Linked DNA regions of Homo sapiens: regions 2 and 3 are each linked to region 1. The links are contacts of gene promoters, found by promoter capture Hi-C in blood cells and fetal thymus (Javierre and others, 2016). All regions are on one chromosome and are shown on one strand. The core of a region is centred on a gene start or on the middle of the fragment in contact, and the rest is flanking DNA. Distances in the headings are between cores, read along the strand shown. Region 1 holds the start of DSC1 (desmocollin 1). Region 2 holds the start of DSG1 (desmoglein 1). Region 3 holds the start of DSG4 (desmoglein 4).

The links. The method cuts DNA at HindIII sites, captures the fragments that hold promoters and counts their contacts. A CHiCAGO score of 5 or more calls a contact.
Region 2: the fragment with the promoter of DSG1 here is called in contact with the fragment with the promoter of DSC1 in region 1 in 2 of 17 cell types (neutrophils and monocytes); the score reaches 6.7 in neutrophils.
Region 3: a contact is called between the fragment with the promoter of DSG4 here and the fragment with the promoter of DSC1 in region 1, in 8 of 17 cell types (erythroblasts, M1 macrophages, neutrophils and 5 more). The highest score is 8.0, in erythroblasts.

What each region holds. Positions count from the first base shown.
Region 1 is chr18:31,160,985-31,164,414 of GRCh38, reverse strand. DSC1 (desmocollin 1) reads left to right here and starts at 1,559. Exons shown (of 16, transcript NM_024421.2): 1 at 1,559-1,883. The coding sequence starts at 1,821. It overlaps DSCAS (DSC1/DSC2 antisense RNA), which reads right to left. Exons shown (of 4, transcript NR_110785.1): 4 at 1,626-1,880. The HindIII fragment of the contact is 8,252 bases long and covers 1-3,430 here.
Region 2 is chr18:31,316,645-31,320,083 of GRCh38, reverse strand. It overlaps DSG1 (desmoglein 1), which reads right to left and starts at 1,924. Exons shown (of 15, transcript NM_001942.4): 1 at 1,736-1,924. The coding sequence starts at 1,783. The HindIII fragment of the contact is 11,545 bases long and covers 598-3,439 here.
Region 3 is chr18:31,375,413-31,379,194 of GRCh38, reverse strand. DSG4 (desmoglein 4) reads right to left here and starts at 2,418. Exons shown (of 16, transcript NM_177986.5): 1 at 2,236-2,418. The coding sequence starts at 2,283. The region is part of intron 1 of DSG1-AS1 (DSG1 antisense RNA 1); the gene reads left to right. The HindIII fragment of the contact is 4,758 bases long and covers 1,317-3,782 here.

The sequences.
Region 1 (3,430 bases), core at 310-2,809:
GGAGAGTATTCTGGATTCATTTGAATTGAGCAGTGCCTGGAATCTCTTCATCCAACCAATATATGCCATTTTTTCAGTAACACCAATTTAATTTTGCTCTTCTATATCTTCCTAGTTCAGTGGAGAATATCATGTTATAGAAAAAGGTAATGATAACTTCATTAGCTGAAAAAAATGTGTTTCTATTTTCTAGGGTTGGAGAATTTGTCTTTGAATTATTTAAGCTGTATGACTATCTATTTATCTGTCTATCTATCTATCTAAATATATACTTAGATGATGCTTAAACATGCACAGAATTACACTTGGCTGTACACATATACATCTAAGTAATTTTTCTATTTCTATATTCCCATTCTTTTCTCCCAAAACGCCAGATATAAAAATATTCCATTAAAATGACTGTATTTTCTGATTGAGAAATCAAATTCCAATGCAGTCACAAAATATGTTTATTAGTGGGTATACCACTAGCAATAAAATACTACAAGATATCTTTTAGTTTTTTTTCTCCTGGGTCATTCATTTTCCAAATCTTCCTAGCTTCTAATTCTAATGAAGCAGTTACATTTATTTCTGTCTCTACATACAAGGAGAAATTGTTCCCATTGTCAAATAAGCTGAAGAAAACCTTTCTTTCCTCCCTTCTCAGCAGCATGGGTGTTGGGCTCTACCTTAACATTTGAAAATATTTATCCTTCTGTCCTAACTTCCATCACTGCCATTGAGTGCAATTGGTATCACTGAGCTCACTAATTTGGGACAGGAATAATGATGCTAAAGCTCTTGTTAGAGGAATCATTAGGGTTTAAAAAAATCTACACTTGATGGCCTGATTGTACTATTAAGCTAGGATATCCTATGTGTAATGTACAAGTAATTAGGGTGAATAGAGTGATTTTAGAGAGACTTGCTCTCAAAGATTGTAGTTGTCCTTGAAAAAATATAAAGGTAAAAAGCAGTGGCATCTTGTACAACAAAAGGAAAGCCACAAGAAAGATTATATGCTAGCTATTTCTTTATTCTCTTTCTTTTATGAAGTCTTTACATTCTGATAAGTTTCCTGTGACATCTAGAGAACCAACCACAGTGAATAGTCAATAACAGGAAGTAGATACCATGCCTTTATGAAGTTGCTGCTTTAAACTGGAATGCCAGTTCTCTAGCAGAACTACAGTGTTCTACAGGACCGATGACACTTAAATGCTTAGATGGGAGATAACTTCTGATGAGTGTGATTACACACGCTTAGGTCCTCTGATTTGCCAATGGCAGTTGAGGAGGCATCACTTCCTTGCATGGCGTTTGTGCACAATTTATGTTTGTACCCGAGGGCAAGACAGGTTAATAAGGCCAAGAAGGAGGGGAGGCTGTGGGAGTGGGTAATAACTGGGGAGGACTTCACAGCATCAACCTGGGGGAAAGGGAGGAGGGCTGAGGATGAAGGGTGTTCCCTCCTCCTTCTGCCTATGTGTTAAGTGGCAAGAGAAATTTTGAAAGCTGCTGTGAGGAGGAGCTACTGACTGGGTTTTGGGGTGTTTTGTACCCCACCCTCCTCACTTGTAGGAAAGCCTCTTTGCATTTAGACGTAATTGAACTGGAAGGAAGGAGACTGGCCAGGGAATAGGGGGAAAGAAATTCTCCCGTTGCTCCTCCTACTGTTTATCACTTGCCTCCGGACTGTCTTCCAAACCAAGCTCAGCTGCATCAAGGTGGCAGCAGAATACCCTGTGCAAGTGCCAGCGTCTTCTTAGCCGCTCTGTGCATCCCAGGCTGCCCTGTTATCTGGCCACCGTCCCTGGCCATTGGGACTGCTTCTGATGGCTCTGGCCTCTGCTGCCCCAGGGAGCATCTTCTGTAAGCAGCTCCTTTTCTCTCTCCTGGTGAGTAACAACCAAAGGATTAGGGAATTCAAGCATGTTACTACCTGCTTCCTCTCTGCAGTTTGGGCTTGAAAGAGACTAGGAGTGAGGATGGGAGGCAGAGAAGAGAGATTGGGGAAAACAAAAGCAGATCTGAGGAAGATTCAGGGAAGAGTTGAGAGGCTTGGGATTCAGGATGGAAAGTGTTCAGCTTACTTCTCAAGCACCCACTGCCAGAGTGTTAAAAGTTTTCAAGGGAATCCCTCTTCCATCCTGCTGTGGTGATTTTCTAAGAGTAGAGAAGTGAATTCATTCTTTAGGCATTTGGCCCAGAAGTTTCTGAGGTTTACTTCTGCTACCAGTGATTACATAAACTCATGTTATTTAACATGCTGAGTTCTACTAAGCTGCAAAAAAAGAGAAAGGATTCTGGGTGAACATGCAAATTATCCAGGACTTTTTGAATTTTACCCACGAAGCAGTTTAAGCAAAGAATAGTTTAAGAAAAATAACAAAAATGTGACTGTCATTGAAAATATCCTCAACTTGGCTTCCACTTGGGTTTTTAATAGCTTTGTAACTGTGTAAGGTGCTATTTTTTCTTTGGAGGTGAGGGAAGAGAGGGGGGTTATTTCACACATCCGTCCATCATTTCTGAGGTGTGAGTTTCCTATTTTTTCATTTTAGCAAAATACTTGAGTTTCAAAATATATTTTTAGAAATGGCAGGTATGAGGACAAACATTTTCTCCATGTAAATAATATACAATGCAGGGTTGATGGTCACCTTCTCATCCTGTAACTGCTTAGGGAGACGATAACTCAGATACCATCTTAAGTTAGTACAAGTTTGGTAAAATGTGGTAAAAATGTTTCAAAGGATTCTACCCACATTTCTTTTGCTTCTGATCCCTGTACTGTCTAATATCTCTTGGACAATTCATCTCCTGTTTATTTATTTCTGACTCTGAAACTGACTAAAAGGGTGTCACTAAGCCACTTAGTCAGTGATTTAACCTGAAGACGGGAATAGTATTTAATGAATGGAAACCTTCAGTGGCTCTGCCTGCAGAGGGAGGACCATCAACATGGAATCCTAGGACAAGAAGGAAAGAAGATGGGGGTGGGAGTGGAAGTGTGGATATAACTATAAGAATGTCTCATATATTTATATATATATATGTACATTTATATATATATACACACACGCACATATACAGTCATGCTCTGCAAAACAATGCCTCAGTCAATGATGGACTACATATATGAGTGGTCCCATAGATTATAATGGAGCTCGTCTGTATAGGTGAACCATTTTTTATCTTTTATATTGTATTTTAATGTACTTTTTCTATATCTAAAAATGTTTAGTTACACAAATACTTACAATTGCCTACAGTATTCAGTAGAGGAACATGCTGTACAGGTTTGTAGCTTACAATAAGCTATACTATATACTATACACCTAGGCTGTACCATGGTGCATACCATGGGGCATACATATATAAATCATGGTGTATACCATGTAGGTATAACCCAGGTGTGTAGTAGACTATATCCTCTAAGTGT
Region 2 (3,439 bases), core at 675-3,174, 160 kb before region 1:
AATGTTTTCCAAAAAAACCTATGATGTCAACGTGAAAATGAAACATTGTAATTCATGATAGTGTAAGTTCTTTGAGAAAAAATTTTCATAAGGCATGTGGGAGACTTGTGATTAATTTCAATATAAAATAAGGTAACCTCCTCTTCCCCCATTCCCAAAAAAACCCCCATAAGCCAACAAAAAAAAATCTAGGCACAGCTAGAGAAAGTTCAATAAAGATATATGATTTTGATGATGATACATTTTATTGAAGAATGACTAAATAGGAAGTGGCTGTTTAAAGAAATTTGATATGCTATAATTAATTTGAAATAAATAAATCAACAAATAAGGCACATCTTAGAGATTCTATGAAAGTTAGTGTACACCTATCTGAACAAGCTGATCAACTAAAACTATAATAGCTCTTAATGGATCAAATTTATTTGAAATTTTAAGTAAAAGTGCTTGATTACTGACAATATGAAACTCTCATATTTCAAATGACATACTGTATAATGATCAGTGATCCCTACCAAATCCTAAGTAATGAAATCAACTGATCCTAAATATCCACTGAAAAGAGCATGGGATAGGACTAATGTTTGAAGGAAAGCTTGGAACCAAAGCCACCAGCTTACTGATGCTCATTTATAACTAAATCCACTGATTATGTCCCGCCTTAGTTAATAAAACTGAATTCAAACTAACCAGCATACTTTGAATCAAAGATCTAACTTATTATACCAACCAACCCAACATTCCAGTTCAAAAATTAAGCAAGTAGAAACAAATGTGAACCACAGCACTATACATCCTGCCAAGCTGGAGGGCAATTTACTTGGCACCTGCCTTTTTGAATTACATTAACCTTACTATGAGAGAGATTACAATTTTCAAATTTTCACTGAAAGTGAAATTGACATAATACATTAGTGGTGCACTTAGTATTATCTCTACAGCAAGAAAACTAATTACATGTAAGGGGGCAATGATAAAGTATTTCATTACATTCGTCAGACGATCAAGTGCACAACTTTTATATCGCAGTCATCACTGACATTCCAGTAGTAAGATCGAGTGTAATAATAATTATACTTACTCTTTAATTATAGCCACTTCTTCACTTAATATGTCATTTATAAACCTCCTGTACTGCCGTTTTTTGAAATTAAAAATGTTTTAAATAAAATCATAGTTAAATAGTGCGGGGCTTTTTATAGTAGTGATACAGATTCTAACCAAATATGCAACTGATGACTTTATTTGGATAGCGAGACCAGCCACAAACTGCTACGATTTTAAATTATGTGGTGCTATTTTTATGTTTTAAAAATTAGAGTAATTCCACCACCAAACACACAAAAAAAATAAAAAAAAAAACAGGTTAAAAATCCAGACACACTTGTGATATTTAGTTTAAAAGCCCTCTTGCAGAAGAGATTTTGAACGACAAAGTGCTACTAACTAGCGATAGGAATTTCCTAAATTCAGTCTTTTCCCAGCATGACTTAGCAATGACTTCAGTGTCAGAGATGTAATACAATGAGTTGACACTGAGGCATTAACATGATCTTGAGTCTTCAATTAAAGAGAGAAATGCTATTGAAAAATCTAGTTCATAAAATCATCTTGTCATTAATATACATTTTCAATGGGTTTAGGTTAGAAATAATGCCCACTAACATTTTCTAAAAAGTTTTCACTTGTTTACAATGGGCACGATTATGAAGGACTTTTACCAGAATCCACTCACCAGAAAAATGAACAGCATTGCAACTACTCTGAAGAAACTCCAGTCCATCTCTGCTGGATTCTCTTACATCCAAGACCAAGGGAGTTTTGTTTGTTCTTCTCTGTTCTTTTTCTTTCTCCCACTCAGCTGGTGTCTGATTAAAATAATTTCTCAGTAGATGTTCTTACATGCAGGCTTTGAGGTGTTTCTGCCTTCCTCTGGGAGAAGGACTGAAGGTACGTATAACCAGTCTGGATCCCCACCCTAAAAACTTGGGCTGGTCTCACTGAAATGCTTGACAAGATCATCATTGCTCCCAGGTAAAAACTTGGGGACACACCCTTCCTCCAGCTGAAAAGCGACTCTTGATGGGGCAAGGAAGATTCACTCCTTTACTGAATGTTTTCAGTGGCAGGCTCTTAAAGTGAACAGAAATACCGAGGGTTATACAGGTGATGGGGGCTTCTCACCCCATGCTTTCTTTACAGGTGGTTTAGTTTCTCCCCATATTAAACAGGCAGGTATAACTTGAATGCTCATCTTATTCATTCCATTATCTGTTTGTAGCCAAACCCTCAGGTCATAGTAGAAAATGACAAACTTTCCATTTTAGTAGATGTTGGGAAAGTTTCAGTTATTTTCGGTTGTTAAGAGACAGAAAATATGCTAATGCAAGACTGAGATTTTTTAAAGTTATTAATTCAAACAAGTAAAACCATGATACTTACAATTATTAGATCCTCTGCATAAGTCACAATTCCCATTAACTGACCAGCCTTCAGTCTAAGGAATCCTCCATTTTCCCTCTAAAGAAATTATTTTCTCTCCCTAATTATTTTTCTTTCTTTATGATTCTTTTATTAAATGCAACAAAATAAAAATTTAAATATTACTAAACTTAAGGGTGAATAGTGAGAACCACCAATTAAAATCCTGATAATAACTTTAAAAATGAGATTCGGTGCCTGAAATACTAATGAAAACACAGAAAGCTGCTCAGCAGGTGAGGTGGGTTAAAAGTCAATGACAATTCCTAAGCACAGAGCCAAGAATCTGTACAGCGAGCCAATTAGAACATAGGGAATACACTGAAGAAATGGCTGCCTACACAGGTAGACGGGAAACTGAATGCAGCCCTGAGGTTTGTGAAAATAAATAGCAACCTTCACAGGGCAGCATTTGGACATATTTTTGGACTCTCTTCTCTTCCCCTGGCAACGTCTAGTATAAATATTGTGAGTGGCAGGAAGCTCATAGACACTGGACACCCTCAGAGTTTGAAACGGCTACTTAGAACAAGAGACCTACCTGATAAGATGTTGATTATGGTCAAAAAGATACTCAAAATGTCTCCAAAAGGAAGAAAATCTCTGAGGGTCAGAGGGTCTATAGAAGGCTGTCATTTCACTACAGATTTGTGGCAAAGAAGATGTGTGGTTTGAATTTCCATATTATCCATCATACAGTGTGGAGGGGAGGAGATAGGCTGCCCATGTTTATTTGCAGTGAATAAGAATGTTTATGATTGTAAATAGCAGATGTAAATAAATAAAATTTAGAAAGATGAGCTGGCCGATTTTCTCTAATGAGAAATGTCAAATAAAATAGACTGTATTAACCTATGACTTAGTCTGAGCAATATATTAGTATCATGTTGTCTGACCATGAATAGCAGAAGACTCACTGGGCACCAGAGACAACTGCACCTACTCTTGCAGCTTTCCA
Region 3 (3,782 bases), core at 1,169-3,668, 210 kb before region 1:
TGAATCTCGATTCACTGTTGAATGTCCCTCACCACCCCTGTCTGTTTTATAGAAGAACATGATAAGCATCCTTAGGAAGAAAATGCCAAATGACTCGTGATAAAATCAGTGCCCTATTGTAATCTAGAGTTTTGAGTACCTTTTGCTGGTTAGCCAGTCAGAACTTTGTTTACAGTGCTCTTTGCGGTTGAGATGTAGCTGACACAAAGTACCTGTGAGTCTCTGAGAGGCTGCCACACCCTCATTAGTGTAAGCTGCAATGATGCCCCAGAGAGTCTTTGATTTAGTTAATGAAGAAGGGGCAGAGTTCAAGTTCAGGAAATTAAAGAGAAGTAGGCATGTCTACTTTCCTATAATATCTATAACATCTCATTGATTCTCCTTAAACAATTCTTGTATTTGTTTCAATTTTGAAATATGCCAGAAGTCTCTACCTCCCAATTCCAGACACTATTAATTGATATGGTAAGGGATCTTTTAGACAAGCATAAAGAAAAAAAATACTTAAAGAACTTTTTCACAATTACCGTGAAATGTCAAACACAAAGACTTCAATATCAATGAGGAGTAGGAGGAATTAAGTATTAAAAACGCTAGTATTACCAAGGAAAATAAATAAATACTACCAAAAAAAGATCCTGAGAGTCTGAAGTATAATACTCTTTCAAGATCAAGGAGAAGAATCAACTCTTCAATTAAATAATATTATCATAAATCATGCCTGTGCAGAAGGCAATGGGAGGCAAGATTTAGTGCTCAGAAGTGGCCTCTAAAATCTTGACACATACAATTTTCCTTACAGAAAACCAAAAGTTTATCTGAGTCAAAGCATGAATATACTCGGTAGAAGAGTAACAAGAGGTATATCCTCATAACTTACTATTTCAATTGAAGACCAAGTCCGATTCTTGCCTCTTCTTTTAGTAACATTTATTTTATTTAGTAAATAAATAATGATCATTGTAACAGAATATTGCCCTTCGTCTTATGTTTTTAAGTTTAAAAATATTTTTCAAAAATGGTATTGTTTAATAATCTGTCTCCTAAACTCAGAGGATGCAATATTCTACCACTGTTGTCACGTTCCCTTTTGAGCTTGGGGTTGTGTGCCCTTTGGCAGTGTTCGGCTCCCGCACTGCTCTTGAAGTTTAGAAATGTGAATTCCAGAAGAGTAGCTCTCACTGTGCCTCTTGGACAATGACGTGCTCCCATCTCTCCCAGCCCTAGCTACTCTCTGTCTCTTACAACTGATGTTCAGAGGAGTCTGGTATAATTGCCACTTGCCTAAGAATAGGATGGGAATCACTTTCTAAGCTTAGGTTGTAGCGCTAACCTGGATACTCCTGGGAGATTGAAGTGTGGCCAACTATAATGCATTTGTCTTAATTTACTTTGAAAAATTTGTACAGTTCCTAATAATCCTGTCCTCTTACCCTCCCAGAATTGGCAATAGTTTGTTGATTGGCCAACTGGAACTTTGTTCTTCTTTGGAGTTGGAATTATCTCTTTCTAGGGTAGGATATTTGCTATGCATGCTGCCTGTCTGGAAATCATGTCACACCTTGGGCACCCAAAGGTTAGAGGAAAGAAATATAATATCCAAGATGCCATGTTTACTGTAAAGAAATAAGTCATTTAAATATTTCTTTGCTGGTCTGTAGGAATGCATTCATAATTCCAGAAAAGTTTTGTCTTGATGGCTGGGCTTCATTTTTCTTTAGCAATATCTGACTGGAAAAAGTTCTCATGACTTTAGTATGTCATCATTAGTTGCAATGTAATTTCAACATGGCTATCATTCCTCCACTTTGAAAGAAACTCATAGGGAAATAACTATTGAAAAGAAATGGGTTTGATTAACTTCCCTTCAAATTTAGAACCCATTTGCACTGGCAGTTTTCACAGCAATCTATCTGATTTATTTATATGATCATAGAATATGAATTTTATTTCCAATTTAAAATTTTAGAATAGTCCTAACACTCAAAGTGAAGTAGATTATGTCTCTGAGGGCATATAAATTTAATTCAGCCAGATTCTCACCCCGCTTCTCTATGGCATTTTGTTCCTCAAGGCGGAGAGAGTTGTTTGAAATTAACAGAGGCTGGACTTCTAGAACTCTCTTTGCAGGAAGGAGATTAAAAATGGAATAAATCCCATGTAGAAAGCCCGACAGTTGACAGAGACAAGACCTTGAGGCTGCATTTCCTTCCCACCTCTTTAAATTCTACTTACCATTAGAATGATCAAAAGGCAAATGTTTCTGAAGAAGAGCCAATCCATTCCTTTGGGTTTCTCTTGCACGCAAATCCTGTGAGATTCAATTTGAGCCCTCGTCTTCTCAGTTCCGAATTCTGCTCTACAGAAAGATATGCTTTGAGACACCCTTTTAGGAGGGCATGGGTGATAACTGTGGTGATCTCTGGGCAGAGAGATGAAGATATTCTATAATGACTGTTTCCCCACCCCAAACTCCCAGGCTGGTCTGGAAGACTGGCATTGTTTGGGCTCTGGGTAAGAATTTAGACACACCTTGATTCTTATTGCAATGAAACCCTTTGTTGGACACCAAAGAAAAACCTTACAGAGCGAGGACAAGATTTACAGGGAAGATAGCCAGTGAATAATAAATTACTCACAACATAAAAAATAATTAAAATGCTAGGGCCTATCATCATGCTGAATAAAATTAGAAGGCTTCTTCTTACTGCCAACATTGTAAAAGCAAAATTACATATACTGACAACACATACACACACATGTCCACTGCAGAACCCACTTCAAGGAATGATACTTTTAGCAGAGGCCATTGTTGAAAGTCATCAGGACTCAAGTATGGTATAGGAAGAAAGATAGAATAATGACGCTCATTTCAATTCAGTTGAGTCCTGCTTCTCTCTTTAAAATGTCTTGTGGTTGAACCGCACTCTCAATTTTAAAGATTTTCTGAAATAACAAAGTTAAGATGAAGGAACTCTGATTTAACTAGTACCAGTATGTTTGTTTCCATACTTTGGCATTTTCTTTCTTGATTATTCAGTCAAACCTCTACAATATGATATTTACAAAATCATTTTAAAGTAACTACAATACAACATTCTCACTTCTCATAGTATTACCACTGATAAAAAGTACATAATGTGGGTGAGGAACACATTTTACACCACCACAAATATTTATTAAGGAGAAACTGAAGTTGGAAACGTGAGAATTTAATGAAAAAAAGCCCAGAGTGGGATCTGGATATTTTTGAATATTATTTCCCTTTTTCGTGTCTCCCTTTTCCTTTGTTAGTATGGGTTTGAAACAGGGTATAGAGTGTCCTGATGCAAACATTGCAGGCTGGCAGCAACATCAATAAACTTAAAAGAAAATGCAGTTAACTGTTCTCTGATTGATAGATAATACATGTTGGTTGGAGAATTTCAAAGGGAGACTGCCTCCTGTCTTCACTATCCCATCACTGTAATTCAGAAACAAGGTTGACCCTGGTAATAGAATGTATTCTAAGTATTGCTTAGTTTCTTGAGAAAAGTAGTTTTAGTATTTTTGGAAGCCAGATAAAGTAATTTACTTTTGCATTATTTCATGTCATGTTGAATTAGATAATTTAATTTGCCTAAGAGAATTAATGAAACAACTCCAGGTCTTTAAGTGACATTGCTTTTTACAAGGGAAAAACAACATTCTTCTCTATTGTTGTGTTTGAAGGAGATATTTCACAAAGGTCTCTATCTTTTGTTTACACTATAGATGATTTCTTCTACATATAAGATTTTTCT